4 separate regions of the Homo sapiens genome follow, and regions 1, 2 and 4 are each linked to region 3. Evidence: promoter capture Hi-C in human tissues and cell types (Jung and others, 2019). All regions are on one chromosome and are shown on one strand. Each heading gives the region's core, a stretch centred on a gene start or on the middle of the fragment in contact. The rest is flanking DNA. Distances are from core to core; before and after follow the strand shown. Region 1 holds the start of CDC42EP2 (CDC42 effector protein 2). Region 2 holds the start of FAU (FAU ubiquitin like and ribosomal protein S30 fusion). Region 3 holds the start of KCNK7 (potassium two pore domain channel subfamily K member 7). Region 4 holds the start of C11orf68 (chromosome 11 open reading frame 68).

Evidence for each region. Contacts are between HindIII fragments. The study calls those that stand out against the background at their distance.
Region 1: the fragment with the promoter of CDC42EP2 here is called in contact with the fragment with the promoter of KCNK7 in region 3 in 2 of the 25 tissues and cell types used here (pancreas and spleen).
Region 2: the fragment with the promoter of FAU here is called in contact with the fragment with the promoter of KCNK7 in region 3 in 1 of the 25 tissues and cell types used here (lymphoblastoid cells).
Region 4: the fragment with the promoter of C11orf68 here is called in contact with the fragment with the promoter of KCNK7 in region 3 in 1 of the 25 tissues and cell types used here (dorsolateral prefrontal cortex).

What each region holds. Positions count from the first base shown.
Region 1 is chr11:65,312,821-65,316,283 of GRCh38, forward strand. CDC42EP2 (CDC42 effector protein 2) reads left to right here and starts at 2,046. Exons shown (of 2, transcript NM_006779.4): 1 at 2,046-2,134. LOC105369344 (a long non-coding RNA gene) reads right to left here and starts at 1,869. Exons shown (of 3, transcript XR_007062727.1): 1 at 951-1,869. RefSeq lists silencers at 1,704-2,083, 2,544-2,673, 2,844-3,003. The HindIII fragment of the contact is 18,736 bases long and covers 1-3,463 here.
Region 2 is chr11:65,120,780-65,123,905 of GRCh38, forward strand. It overlaps FAU (FAU ubiquitin like and ribosomal protein S30 fusion), which reads right to left and starts at 1,355. Exons shown (of 5, transcript NM_001997.5): 1 at 1,311-1,355; 2 at 960-1,042; 3 at 721-865; 4 at 202-257; 5 at 1-27. The coding sequence starts at 1,034. It overlaps MRPL49 (mitochondrial ribosomal protein L49), which reads left to right and starts at 1,542. Exons shown (of 4, transcript NM_004927.4): 1 at 1,542-1,645. The coding sequence starts at 1,568. RefSeq lists enhancers at 1,313-1,402, 1,563-1,832. The HindIII fragment of the contact is 8,684 bases long and covers 927-3,126 here.
Region 3 is chr11:65,594,242-65,597,827 of GRCh38, forward strand. It overlaps KCNK7 (potassium two pore domain channel subfamily K member 7), which reads right to left and starts at 1,559. Exons shown (of 3, transcript NM_033347.2): 1 at 1,213-1,559. The coding sequence starts at 1,531. It overlaps MAP3K11 (mitogen-activated protein kinase kinase kinase 11), which reads right to left. Exons shown (of 10, transcript NM_002419.4): 10 at 3,516-3,586. The HindIII fragment of the contact is 18,543 bases long and covers 1-3,586 here.
Region 4 is chr11:65,917,747-65,921,072 of GRCh38, forward strand. It overlaps C11orf68 (chromosome 11 open reading frame 68), which reads right to left and starts at 1,316. Exons shown (of 2, transcript NM_001135635.2): 1 at 1,164-1,316; 2 at 1-472. The coding sequence starts at 1,285. It overlaps DRAP1 (DR1 associated protein 1), which reads left to right and starts at 1,680. Exons shown (of 7, transcript NM_006442.4): 1 at 1,680-1,797; 2 at 2,034-2,106; 3 at 2,202-2,295; 4 at 2,597-2,716; 5 at 2,823-2,916; 6 at 3,138-3,226. The coding sequence starts at 1,756. RefSeq lists enhancers at 433-1,352, 1,353-2,273 and a silencer at 1,070-2,139. The HindIII fragment of the contact is 24,812 bases long and covers 1-3,326 here.

The sequences.
Region 1 (3,463 bases), core at 796-3,295, 280 kb before region 3:
AGTGGTGCGATCTCGGCTCACTACAAGCTCCGCCTCCCAGGTTCATGCCATTCTCCTGCCTCAGCCTCCTGAGTAGCTGGGACTACAGGCGCCCGAGTAGCTGGGACTGCAGGTGCCTGCCACCATGCTCGGCTAATTTTTTTTTTTTTTTGTATTTTTAGTAGAGACGGGATTTCACCATATTAGCCAGGATGGTCTCGATCTCCTGACCTCGTGATCCACCTGCCTTGACCTCCCAAAGTGCTGGGATTACAGGCATGAGCCACGGCGCCCAGCCCTCATTGGCAATTTTCATTTCCATTTCTCATGTAACAAAACATATTCATAGATTACACAGGTTCGGATGTGGGCTTTTTTTCTTTTCTTTTTTTTTTTTTACATGGGTTTTTGCTCTATTGCCCAGGCTGGAGTGCAGTGGCGTGATCACAGCTCACTGCAGCCTTAACCTCCCAGGTTCAAGCAATTCTCCTACCTAAGCCTCCAGAGTACCTGGGACTACAGGCTTGAGCCACCATGTCCGGCTAATTTATTTGTTGTAGAAACAGGGTCTCACTATGTTGCTCAGGCTGGTGTCAGTGTCAAACTCCTGGACCCAAGCAATCCTCCCACCTTGGCCTCCCAAAGTGCTGGGATTATAGGCATGAGCCACAGCACCTGGCTAGATGTGAACATATTTAGGGGGGCTGTTATTTTACCTACCATGATCCCCTTCTTCCCATCCGGACCTCCCAGCTTGTCTGGCATCTTCCCCCACCCCCAGCATCCTGCCTCCCCCACTGAGGTCTTCCCGGCTCTGCCTCCCTAAAAGCCCTTCCCACACTGACAGCATTGAAGCCAACCATCCTGGTCACACTGAGCTGGCATAGCTGTCATCCTCTAGAAAGTGAGGTCTGTCCACCCCGTCACTACCCACCACTTCCTCTGCCCCACTCTTCTTAGCACTTACCCACCTGGAAGGGTATCATGATGTACCTGGGAACTTGGATTTCCCCCATTTCCCTTCTCTGGGCTGCAGGTCCCAATCCAGAGGCTGAATCCCCAGGGACAAGAACAGCGCTAGGCACTTGGTAGATACTCAACAAATCTCTCTTGAGTCACTGAGAGGTGCAGTTTCCTTCAGTCTGTCTCCAGCACCCTGTGCGGTGCCTGCCCTTCAAAACATGTTTCTGGGCCGGGCGCGGTGGCTCACGCCTGTAATTGCAGCACTTCGGGAGGCCGAGGCGGGCAGATCACTTGAGGTCGGGAATTCGAGACCAGCCTGGCCAACATGGAGAAACTCCGTCTCTACTAAGAATACAAAAATTAGCCAGGTGTGCTGGCACATGCCTGTAATCCCAGCTACTCGGGAGGCTGAGGCAGGAGAATCTCTTGAACCCAGGAGACGGAGGTTGCGGTGAGCAGTCTGGGCAACAAGAGCGAAACTCTGTCTCAAAAAAAAAAAAAGTTTCTGGCCCTGTAGGAATGACTGACTGACTGACTGAAAGAATGAATGGACCAGGAACTAGTCTGAATATGAGCCCCACCTTCACTCTGGAAGCCTGACAGCAAAGACGGGGGTCCAGGCCACGCGGCCTCTGCCTTCCCATACTGTCTTTTCTAGTGGGAGGTAAACTGATCAACTAGCTTGTAAGTTTGTAGTATTCTAACGTAGGCGCTTCCAAGGAAGTCGCTGAATATACTTGTGCCGGCGCTTCCCCGACGCAGCCCTGCAGGGAAGGATCCGGTCCAAGGTCTCTCTGCGATTTCTGAAGAATTCGGTCTTCCCGGAGCCTCTCCCCCGGCTCTTCTAGAACCGAAGGTTTTAGTTCCCATGGGCACAGCCGGAGGCCGCCTGCGCCACCCGGCCCTCAGCCGCCAGAACCAGGACAGGACTCCAGGGCGCGCGCGACCGCTGGACCCGGGAGCGGCACCTCCCACGCCGGGAGCCCCGGGCGGTGCCCGGAGTGGGGCGGGGCCTGGGCGGGGATGGGGAGGGGCTTGGCTGGCGCGGCCCCGGCATTGGCTCCGCGGGCCGGGGCGGGGCTGCGGGGTCCGCGGTGCACTCTGTAAGTTCACCGCCGGTCGGGTCCGGCCGCCGCGCTGTCCAGCTCCTGAGACCTTGCTGTCCGCCGGTCTGCCGTCTGCGCGCCTCACGGTGAGTTCGGGCTGGGATTTTCGCAGCTTCGCGGGGGTCCCCCGAGAGGCCCATCTCTGTGGCGCCCCGCCCCAGCTCGCGCCCTGGCTCTGCCTCTCACCTCACTCAGTTCCTTTCGAGGGCTCCTAGGGCTCCATGGGGCTTCCCACCCGCATCTGGGTTCCCGCAGCCTCGCCCGTGCCCGCCACGGTCCGTGGGGGCGCAACGCATCCCGACCCCGAATTCCCCGTTCTGCCCTCCATTTTGTGTCCGGGCCCCCGCCCCCCTCCCGAGACCCAGGGGTGCCCCGCCGCCCAGCATCCCCACCGGGGCTGGGGGCCGTATTTTTAGCCGATAGTGAGTTGTTCTCCTATCTTTAGCTGCGGCCGCGAATGTCCTGAAACGGATCCGGGCTGGGCTGGGCTCCGCCCGGGTAGGAGTGGGGAGGGGTCGGCGCAGGAACCCGAGCCGGAGCTAAGGAGCCGGACCCGTGGGAGGGGCGGGGGCCCGCACGCCCGAGCTCTGGCCCTGTGCCGAGCGGACACTAGGACATCGCCCAGGCCGGAAAGCACAGGGGGGAGGCTCCTCCCAGAGCTTGGAGACTAGGGCAGGGTCCCCAATCGCCCCCTTTTTCCCCGATTGTGGGACCAGAAACCCCGAAGCAAAAAGATCTCGCAGGTAATCCCCATCTGGTACTTGAACGCGCAGCTCCTTGGGGACCGCCTGCCTGGAGCCCGGGGGAGGGGCGCTGGAGACCCCGGTGCGCTCTCGGAGTCCTCCGGGACACGAGGCGATCAAGGGAGCACGCGCGCCACCTGGCGGCCGCGGAGCCGGGCACCTCTCCGGAGGCACCGGGACCCCGGGAGACCCAGCGGCCGCTAGAGGGTCTCTGCATCCTCGAGGTCTAGGAGGGCGGGAGGAGGTGGACGCCTGGGGTCAGGAGCCCTTCGTTTTTGCTATTGTTCAAAGCACTGGCCCCGGAGAATCGAAGTGCTTGAGGAAGGAAGGCCTTGTAGATATTTGCTGAATGAATGATAAAACCTACAGTGACCCGCTGAACCCCGCTATTGTACATTGGCGCTCTCACCTGCAATATTGCAGTGGGATCTCCAGTGGCCCTTTAGTGGTGGCTTCGTTGTCAGCCCATTTTATAGATGGGAAAGGTGAGACCCAGAGAGGAGAGGCGTCTTGCTGAAGGTTACTGAGGAAGTCCCAGGTGGAGCTGGATTTAAGGACAGTCTCCTGATTTAGGAGAAGAGGGGGTGTGAGGTGGCCTAATATTCTTCATGATAGGAGGATCCCTGCCTGCCGGAAGTCATTTTCTCATTGGGAGGTCCAGGGCTCCTGTCC
Region 2 (3,126 bases), core at 105-2,604, 470 kb before region 3:
CTTCTTCTTCTTCTCCTGTTTGGCCACCTGGAGAAGGGAAGGTTAATCAGGCCCTGGTTCCTGTCTTCCACACCTAGCATCCCTTCCCTCAGGCTCATCTCCAGGGAGGGAGAAGGCAAACCGAGTAAGAGCCCAGGGACTTGGTTTAGCTGTGAAAGGAAAAAAAGTCCTAACACCATGACCACTAATACTCTCACTCACCTTAGGAGTCTGACCTCTCACTTTTCCAGCACGGGCCAGGGAACCATGGACTTTACCTGTAGTGGGAAAGGAAGGCACCAGCAGGTAAGAGCAAGAAGGTGCCACCCAGCAGAACCCCTCTTTTCTCAATTCAAGCCTTTAAAGAGAAGCTGCGCCCAATAGGTAATGAGAACAAAGTTGCAGATATTTGACCTTGAAATCTTAAGTTTCATTTCAGGATCTTCCAGCTTCTAATTTTATAGAGCACTTTGGGGGCCCTGGTCTGACCTAATTTTAGTGTGGAAGCTGATAACCAGACTAGGATCTCGTGATGTGACTGAAATACAACTACACTCTGGCTCAGTCTCCCATGGACGTCTGTGTTCAACATGAGGGATGTAAACAGGAAGAATCACTCTGAACTGAAGACAGTGAGAAGTACTCTATTACCATAGGTGTGACACTCAGCTGTCAGGACTATGCACCCCACACTCACTAGACGCTTACCGGTACTTCAAAGAACATTCCTCTCTCACTCACCTCCAAGCATGCGGCCTGCTACTTCCAGGGTAGTCAGGGCCTCCACCCCGCACTGGCCCAGAGTGGCCTCATCCTCCAGGGGCGCGCCTGCCAGGAGCACGACTTGATCTTCCGGGGCAATGCCCTCCAGTGAGGCTACATGAGCCTACAGGGAAAGATAAGGCTCGTAAGCGTTCCCTCGGGCCGCGAGAGTGAAGAGCACAAGAAAATGGAACCCAGGGCGCACCAAGCAGCCTTACCTTGATCTGGGCGACCGTTTCCTGGCCGGTCACCTCGAAGGTGTGTAGCTCCTGGGCGCGGACAAAGAGCTGCATATTGGCGACTGAGTAAAGAAAAGACGGCTTGTAAGAGAAGCCAAGAAATGCTCTGGGATAAAGGAGATTTGGGAGTGGAAAGCGGTCCAGAAACGATCGCGACGGGATGGTGGTCGCGGCGGCTCACGTGGGGAAGGCCAGGCCTCCCAAGGAGTTCGGATAGGGACTGGAGCAGGGCCACGGAGCAGGCCCCGTTCTTCGGTTCCCCCCGCGCCTTCTGACCCCGCAGCCAACCTGCTACAAGCCCTTCGGATCCAGCCAAGGCCCCATTCTTACCTGAACGGCGGTCCCAGCTACCGCGAAGATGGAGTCGAGAAAGAGGAAGAAGCGAGGGCGCGTCAGTACAGACCGTGGGCTGCGTGTCACGTCACTGCTGAGCGACCGCGCGGTTCCCTGCTATTTGTACCGCCCAAGGCAGTCCTAGCTCCGCCCCTTTACGCTCGCACCGGCGAACCTGCCTGGGCAGGCAGCTCGCGCAGGACGGGGCGGGACCAGACAGTTGCGCGCACAGAAGGCTGGCGTAGCAGGTAAAGATGGCAGCTACCATGTTCCGGGCTACGCTGCGGGGATGGAGAACCGGTGTCCAGCGGGGCTGCGGGCTACGGCTGTTGGTGAGAGCGCTGAGCGAGGAGCTGAGGGCATCGCGTGGGTGTGAGGCTCAGTGTTAATCATTGTTAACCCCGAAAACTAAGGCATTCCTACTTGGGGCCTTAGTTTTGCCGTTTTCGATCAGGAGAACTTGTCCCGAGTGTACATATAGAATCGAGAGGGAAAATGGTAGACTGGGGTGCTCTTTGGGAGCACTTAACACAGTGCCTGGCAGTGTCTATATAAGCCACAACGTTTCAGGTAAGGGGCGGGGTCCTAGCATATGAGTGTGCGTGGGGAATTATGATTGCCTTAATTCTTTTTTTTTTTTTTTTTGAGACGGAGTCTCGCTCTGTCGCCCAGGCTGGAGGGCAGTGGCGCGATCTCGGCCCACTGCAAGCTCCGCCTCCCAGATTCACGCCATCCTCCTGCCTCAGCCTCCCGAGTAGCTGGGACTACAGGCTCCCGCCACCATGCCCGGCTAATTTTTTGTATTTTTAGTAGAGACGGGGTTTCACCTTGTTAGCCAGGATGGACTGGATCTTCTGACCTCGTGATCCGCCCGCCTCGGCCTCCCAAAGTGCTGGGATTACAGGCATGAGCCGCCGAACCCGTCTGATTGCCTTAATTCTTAAGGCAATCATAAGATTAAACATCACTATATCCCGTCACAGATGTGATTAGGTTAGCAAGGCCAGCCAGGCAATCATGGAGGTACAAACAAGGCCACGCTGCCAATATAATAATATCTATTTCTAAAACCGAGACAGAAAGTTAAGCCTTAAGTTTCTAAAGGCTTGATTGACTTTTCAGAAGTGTACATATACTCTTTTGCATCCCACAGAAATCCTGAGAGGCAGACCATTCAGAGTACCTGAGCCTCCTTTCCATCCCATCTGTACCCTGCACCATGGAAAACCAAAGACTGGTGCTATCTTATGTCAACCTAAATAACAGACTCTAAAAGAAAAGGATATTTATTCGGGAATGGGTATAGACTATGTGCTTATCAGGGAGGTAAAAGAAGACAAAGGTTTTTAACAGAAAAATGGGCCAGGCACGGTGGCTCACGCCTGTAATCCCAGCACTTTGGGAGGCCAAGGCGCGTAGATCACCTGGAGTCAGGAGTTTGAGACAAGCCTGGCCAACATGGTGAAACCCGTCTCTAGAAAAAATACAAAAATTAGCCGGGTGTGATGGCGTGTGCCTGTAGTCCCAGCTACTTGGGAGGCTGAGGTAGGAGACTTGCTTGAACTTGGGAGGCGGAGGTTGCAGTGAGCCGAGATCACACCACTGCACTCCAGCCTAGGTGACAGAGTGAGACTCTATCTAAAAAAATAATAAAAATAAATAAAGGAAAGGAAAAATGAGTATTACATAATTGTTTTGAGACAGTTATCCTTGGCTACAAGGATGAATAACATGGGTGGTGCCAGTTCAAGATTGGACAGGCAGTTGTTGGACAGATGGCCATGCAGGAATTTGTTTTGTTTTGTTTTGTTTG
Region 3 (3,586 bases), core at 309-2,808:
GAATCAGCCCAGGCCCTGCCCCTTCTGGTGGGGGAGTCGGGCAGGCAAATCATGAAGGGCTGCAAAGAGGCAGCATGGGCGAGAGAGGGCATGTGCCAGGCGGGGAGGGGTGGGAGTGCGGGGTGTGCTGGGAGAACAGGATCAGCTAATACAGAGCTGCAAACGCACATGCCTACCGGAGCCAGATGGGAGACAAACAGGAGTGGTGGGGACAGGGGTACACTGGAAAGTGTGAGCTGTATCCAAAGGGCAGGCCCCATTCTGCTCCAGTCAGGATGTTGCCTTGCAGGGATTCTGGCTCAGTGTGAGTGGGTTTCCTGATTTTCCAAAAGAAGTTGGAAATATGAGCTGGGCACAGTGGCTCACACCTGTAATCCCAACACTTTGGGAGGCTGAGGCAGGTGGATCACTTGAGGTCAGGAGTTTGAGAACAGCCTGGCCAACATGGCAAAACCCCGTCTCTACTAAAAACACAAAAATTAGCCGGGCATGGTGGTGCATGCCTGTAGTCCCAGCTACTCAGGAGGCTGAGGCAGGAGAATTGCTAGAACCCGGGAGGTGGAGGTTGCAGTGAGCCAAGATCGCACCACCGCACCCCAGCCTGGGTGACAGGGTCAGACACCGTTTCAAAAAAAAAAAAAGTTGGAAATACAAATTCCAATTCAAAAAATACTGAGACACTTTGTGGGGCAAAAAATACGAAAACCCAGGGCTGTGGGTCTCATTGCTGCTTTTCCCTGGGCCTGTGCCCACGCGATTTCTCTGCAGGACTCCCTCATCCCTGTCTGTGCCCTCCTGATCCACAAGCATCTCATGCCGACTTCCTCCCCTATCTTCCCTCACTCCCCCACCCGAGGCCATGGTCCTGATCTGTCCTTCCCAGGTTCATTCTATTTGCTTCCATCCAAGAATCCATCCCACTGTATTGTATCCCCTATCTGGCCACAGGCTGTGGCATCTGGGCAGCTCTCCTGGGTCTCAAAGGGTGCCTGGGGTGGGACTGGGGAGGCCACACCCTTCCTGGCAGTTGAAGTGGAGGCACCAGTTGGGGTGTGTTGGTGGGGAGCCCCAGCTGTGATGTCAGGCCTCACAGGGCCTGGGCTCCATCTGGCTCTTTGGGGCTGAAGGAAGGGCTGCATGAACCCCAAAGCCCCCAGGGAGCCATGGCCTCTTGGAGCCGCACCCCCCGACTTGGCTGCCTGGCTCTCTTACCTGTGGTGGTGAGGATGCTGGCAGCGAAGAGCAGGGCTGAGGGAAGGTCCCAGGTCCTGCCCTCTGAGCTGTTGCCCAGGGTGGAGACCCCATGGGCCTGGGTGGCCAGGGCAGTGCCCAGCAGCTCTTCCAGAGCTCCGGGTGGCAGGCAGGCCCTATGCTCTGCCTGGAAGGCTGCCAGCTCTGCCCTGAGCTCAGCCTGAAGCCTGCATGCAGGAGGCCCCTCCAGGGCCTGGAACACCACAGCCCCAAGCCCCAGGGCCAGCAAGTGGGCCACAACCAGGAGCCCGTATCGGGACCAGGGCCTTAGACCCCCCATGGCAGGCCGCTGGGGTGCTGTGGGAACTGGCGGCTCCACCTCAGGCACCTGGGAGGGGCTGGGCAGGGCGGGGCCAGGAGGAGGTGCTGTGTGGGTGGCTGGGACCCGGCTGGGATGGCTGGGGTGGCTGGGGTGTGAACAGGAGGGAGGTGAGCTGCATCACCCTTCCCAGGTCCTGGAGGCAAGACATTTGCCCATTTCACAGCAGCTGGGATGGTGGGGATGGGTGGAGGAAGGCGGCTGCGGTGAGGGGAGGAGGCGGAGGAAGCTGAAGCCTAGAGAGGACCTCACACTTATTCAAGGTCCTGCTCACTCAGGCACCCATACCACATTCATTCATTCATTCATTCATTCAAGTGCTTAGGGAAGAGGACAGGCACAGGTCCTTTCCTTCCTGGTGTTTACACAAGAAACCTCTTAGCAAAGAAACATGGCAACCTCACATTGTCATGAGTTCCATGAAGGAAACACCCTGGGTGATGGGAGAGCTCTGCGGGGAGCGGGGGGGTTATCTCACTGGGAAAGCTCTGCTAAGGAGGTGATATTTCAGCTGGGGAGTAAGAGGCCAGTGAAGGTAGGAATGAGCTTGGGGTGTGAGAGGAACAGAGGGCTGGCTGTGGCAGGGGAGAGTTGGGGGTGAAGGGGGGATAAGGACACAGGCCCTTGAGGATAAATGTGGTCCAGGGAGACCTACGCTGGGCTACTGTAGGCGTCATGGATGGAGTGATTTTGGCCTGGGTGGTGTGGTGGGAGAGGAATGGTGGCAGCTGGGAAGGATCAGGTGGGGGTGGGAGGTGGGGAGAGGACTCCAGGGTGCCCAGAGCACCCGGGCAGATGATACCCTTGCGCCCGATTGCCAGTTCTTCCTGAGAACGCTTTGTGCCTGCCCTCCTGACTCCCTGCCCCTGAACTGCAGACACAGAGTCTGGGCTGCCATGGGGCACCTGGGAGAGGGGAAGGGGGAGCCTGGGTTCCAACTCCTCTAACGTCAGAGGGGCTGAGGACAGAGGCCAAGGAAGGGACCCAGCCCTAGGGTATGGTGTGGGAGTGCCAGAGCCCCCATGGCAGTGTGAAGAGAATGGACAGAGGCCGAGGGAGGGACCCTGCCCTAGGGTATGGTGTGGGAGTGCCAGAGCCCCCATGGCAGTGTGAAGAGAACTGTCAGGGGTGCCAGATGCCATGGCAAGTCACCATACTGGGAGGTGGGTGGAACTTACTACTCTTTTTTTTGAGATGGAGTCTCGCTCTGTCGCCCAGGCTGGAGTGCAGTGGTGCAATCTCGGCTCACTCAACCTTCGCCGCCCGGGTTCAAGCTATTCTCCTGCCTCAGCCTCCCAAGTAGCTGGGGCTACAGGCACCTGCCACCACGCCTGGTTAATTTTTGTATATATATATATTTTTTTCAGTAGAGACGGGGTTTCACCATATTGGCCAGGCTGGTCTCAAAATCCTGACCTTGTGATCTGTCCGTCTCGGCCTCCCAAAGTGCTGGGATTACAGGCGTGAGCCACCATGCCCGGCCTATGGTTTTTTGTTTTTTTTTTTTTTGAGACGGAGTCTTGCTCTGTTGCCCAGGCTGGAGTGCAGTGGCGTGATTTTGGCTCACTGCAACCTCCACCTTCCAGGTTCAAGCAATTCTCCTGCCTCAGCCTCCAGAGTAGCTGGGACTACAGGCATGCACCACCACACCTGGCTAATTTTTGTATTTTTAGTAGAGATGGGGTTTCACCATGTGGCCAGGTTGAACTCCTGACCTCATGTGATCCGCCGGCCTCGGCCTCCCAAACTGCTGTGATGACAGGAGTGAGCCACTGCACCTGGCCGAGAAGAGCCTTGAATGACTGACCAAGGCTGGTGGATTTGGTCCCAGGAGAGGCATGCAGTACAAGGCATCCAACTGCCTATTGTTGGGGCATCAGGACACCAGGGTTGTATGATAGGTTGGGTCACCTGGTTACCTCCAAGAAAGGTGACAGGCTACATGTGGGGAGACAGCTTTTGAGTTTATTTGGCTTCTGGCTTCACTGGATCCCGAGGCTAAGACTCCAACCCTGG
Region 4 (3,326 bases), core at 66-2,565, 320 kb after region 3:
CTGAAGCTGGCCTTCAACCACGGCCCGGGCAATGCCAGCCCAGGCGTGGTCCAGCTTGAAGCCCGGTGCCAGATGCATAAGCCACTTGCCCGAGAGCACGTGGTGGGTGATGGCGAGCTGGCGCAGGGTACCCGGTGTGATGGGCCGCCCACTGGTCTGCAGAGCTTCCCAGGCTGCCTGCAGGCCCTGCACGTCCCCGGAGTTGGGGCTGTAGCCCTGCCCATACACTGCAATCCAGCCCACAGGCTCTGAGTTGGGTGAACCGGGGTCCCCATAGCGGGTAACTTGGGATGGTGGGTACTTGGCCAGCCAGGCATCCAGCTCAGTGGCAGGCGTTGTGCGGGCATCAAACACTAGCCAGGGGTCCATGTCAGCTGCCATGGCCTCTGCAGCCAGGTGCTCGGCGGTGAAGCCATCCTCACGGCCACCTGGAGAGCCCTCCTCTTCCAGCTCCTCACCTGGTTCCATCCTGCTGTGAGGGAACCGAGTCAGGGCAGGGTCTGAGACAATAACTACAGATGCCAGGCACTGGATTAAACTGTGGCCTTGAGTAAGAGTTACTGTCGATGCGCCTCAGTTGCCTCATCTTTACAATGGGATAACAACTGTTCCTGTCCCGTAGATCTGCTATGAAAATTAGATGCCTGAGGAGTCAGCGCTCCAGAAGGGTTGCTGCAGTTATTACTATTCTCCTTGACTTACAGAAAAGGAAACTGAGGCTGAGAAAAAGGACTTGCCCAAGGTCACACCTGCAGTGCGTGGCAGGGCCGAAGGGTGAATCCAGGCGTGGGAGCAACCAGCCCCAGCTACACCTCCCGGCCCTGCCAAGGCCCCCTTTTCCTGGCAGGTATCCGGTGCGCTGGCATTTAATAGAGGAACGCAAAGAAGCGCACGTTCGCGCAGCTCCCGAGGCCGGCTCTGTAAGGCCAGGCCTCCCAGGCAGGCGTTATCGGGCCCACTTACAGACGAGGACGCTGAAGTCCAGAGAGGTTACAGGCCGTTCCGAGGCCAATGGGGCGGTTCCCAGACTCGAACCAGGGCTTGTTAGAGCCTGCAGGAGAGCCAGGCTCCGGCCGTGCCGCGCCCGCCGCCATTAACGCCCACGGGCCCGAGCTGTGCTCCCGCCCCGGCCCTGCCCTGCCCCTCCCGCCGCCCGCAGTCACCTCCGGCCTTCGCTGCGTTCGACGCCGGCCCAGCCCCGGGCCCGGCTCCGCTCCTGCCGTGGCTCCGCGCCACCGCCACCGCGCCCCACCCCCGCCACGGCCGCCGCCGCCGCCGCCGCCATCTTAGCGCCGCGCCACCTCAACAACAACTTTATAGACAGGCGCAGCCACAGGGCGGAGCCGCGGGCCTCAGCGGCCGCAGCGGCCGCGCTGTGGGGCGGGGCCGGCAGGGGAAGGGGCGGGGCCGACGGGGAGGTGCTGACTCGGGGGCGGGGCCATCGCGGGAACCCCGGGAGGGGCGGGCCGCGGGGGGCGGGGCCAACGTTCGCTCTTCTGGCCTTGGGGGCGGGCGGGAGCGGCGGTCCAGACTGGGGAGGGACGCGCACCGGCCAGGAGGCTTCAAGAGGAGGGCACTAGGGCCCTGCGAGCGGCGTCTTAACCGGCGGCGCTAGGACTCCGCGGGAAACGGCGGGGGCGGAGCGGGCGGCACCAGGACCCAGGGGAACCGCGACGGGCGGGCGGCGAGCAGGCCCGGGAGCCGGGAGGCTGCGGGCGGCGGCGCTGGACCCGACGCGGCGAGAGAGGCCCCGAGATGCCGAGCAAGAAGAAGAAGTACAACGCGCGGTTCCCGCCGGTGAGCACGTGGCAGAGCCCGGCAGGAGTGGGCCCGGCTCCCGGGTGGCTTGGGCCCAGTTCCCGCTGGGCAGGCGGGCGCGCCGCGGTGTTCGGGGGCCTGGACGCCCCGCCCCCTCCATGCCCTCCCCGCGTCCGTGTCCCCCGCCCCCTTTCTCCGGGGATGCCCCTTCCTCCCCCAGCACCCCCTTAGGGGACGGTGGCGACGGGGTCTGAACTCTGCTCCCCCACCCGCAGGCGCGGATCAAGAAGATCATGCAGACGGACGAAGAGATTGGGAAGGTGGCGGCGGCGGTGCCTGTCATCATCTGTATCCTGCCGGGGGCGGACCGGGTCGAGGGGCGTGGGGGAGGGAGGCAGCGGGTCGCCCTCTCCTGCCCCGGAGTTCTCCTTGACGCTCCTCAGCCCGGGCGCTCGAGCTCTTCCTAGAGTCGCTGTTGAAGAAGGCCTGCCAGGTGACCCAGTCGCGGAACGCGAAGACCATGACCACATCCCACCTGTGAGCGGCGAGGAGCCGGGAGGGGCCGGCGGGTTTGGCGCGGGGAGTTCACACACTGAGGAAGGCAGAGCCTGGGTGGCGAGGGAGGTGGGCGGCAGCCGGGACACCAGCAAGGCCACAGACTGGCAGAGGAGAGGCTGGGCTTCCAGGCAGAGGGAGCCACCTGAGTAAAGCAGGGCAGGCCCGGGAGCGGAGATCGGCCCGGGCTCCAGCCTGACATCTGGGGCCCCTTGCTGCCACCCACTGCGGGTTTGGGTGTCTGGGCCCCTCTTGAGTGCCAGCCCCTCCTCACCTCTTCCAGGAAGCAGTGCATCGAGCTGGAGCAGCAGTTTGACTTCTTGAAGGACCTGGTGGCATCTGTTCCCGACATGCAGGGGGACGGGGAAGACAACCACATGGATGGGGACAAGGGCGCCCGCAGGTGGGGCCAGGGCCTGGCATACAGTGGGGAAGGCCAAGGCCACAGGGCTTGGGGGTGGCCAAGGAGTAGGGAGCACTCCGGGCAGATGGACTGTACCTTCCCAAAGGGGCCGGAAGCCAGGCAGCGGCGGCCGGAAGAACGGTGGGATGGGAACGAAAAGCAAGGACAAGAAGCTGTCCGGGACAGACTCGGAGCAGGAGGTGAGTGAGGCCCCAGCCCTTCGCCCTGCCCTTGGTGATGGGACAGGCAGCCTCGCCCCAGGCTGAACTGGCAGGAGGCCAGCTCTCATCCTTTTCTGCAACCTGTTTGCTCACTGGTTTATTTGTAAATTGGGGCTATGAGGGTCTACTGCTGTCCCTGCCACTCCCAGTGATGGGTTCGTGTCTTTTCTTGTCAACTCTGACCTCTGCGGTGCTCACAGGATGAATCTGAGGACACAGATACTGATGGGGAAGAGGAGACATCACAACCCCCACCCCAGGCCAGCCACCCCTCTGCCCACTTTCAGAGGTGAGCAGCCCAGAGGCATGGGAGGGTGCTGGCAGACTCCCCAGAGCCAACTTACCCCTCTTGTTCTCCCTGGCCCCTTGGTCTTGTTGATTGTGGCAGA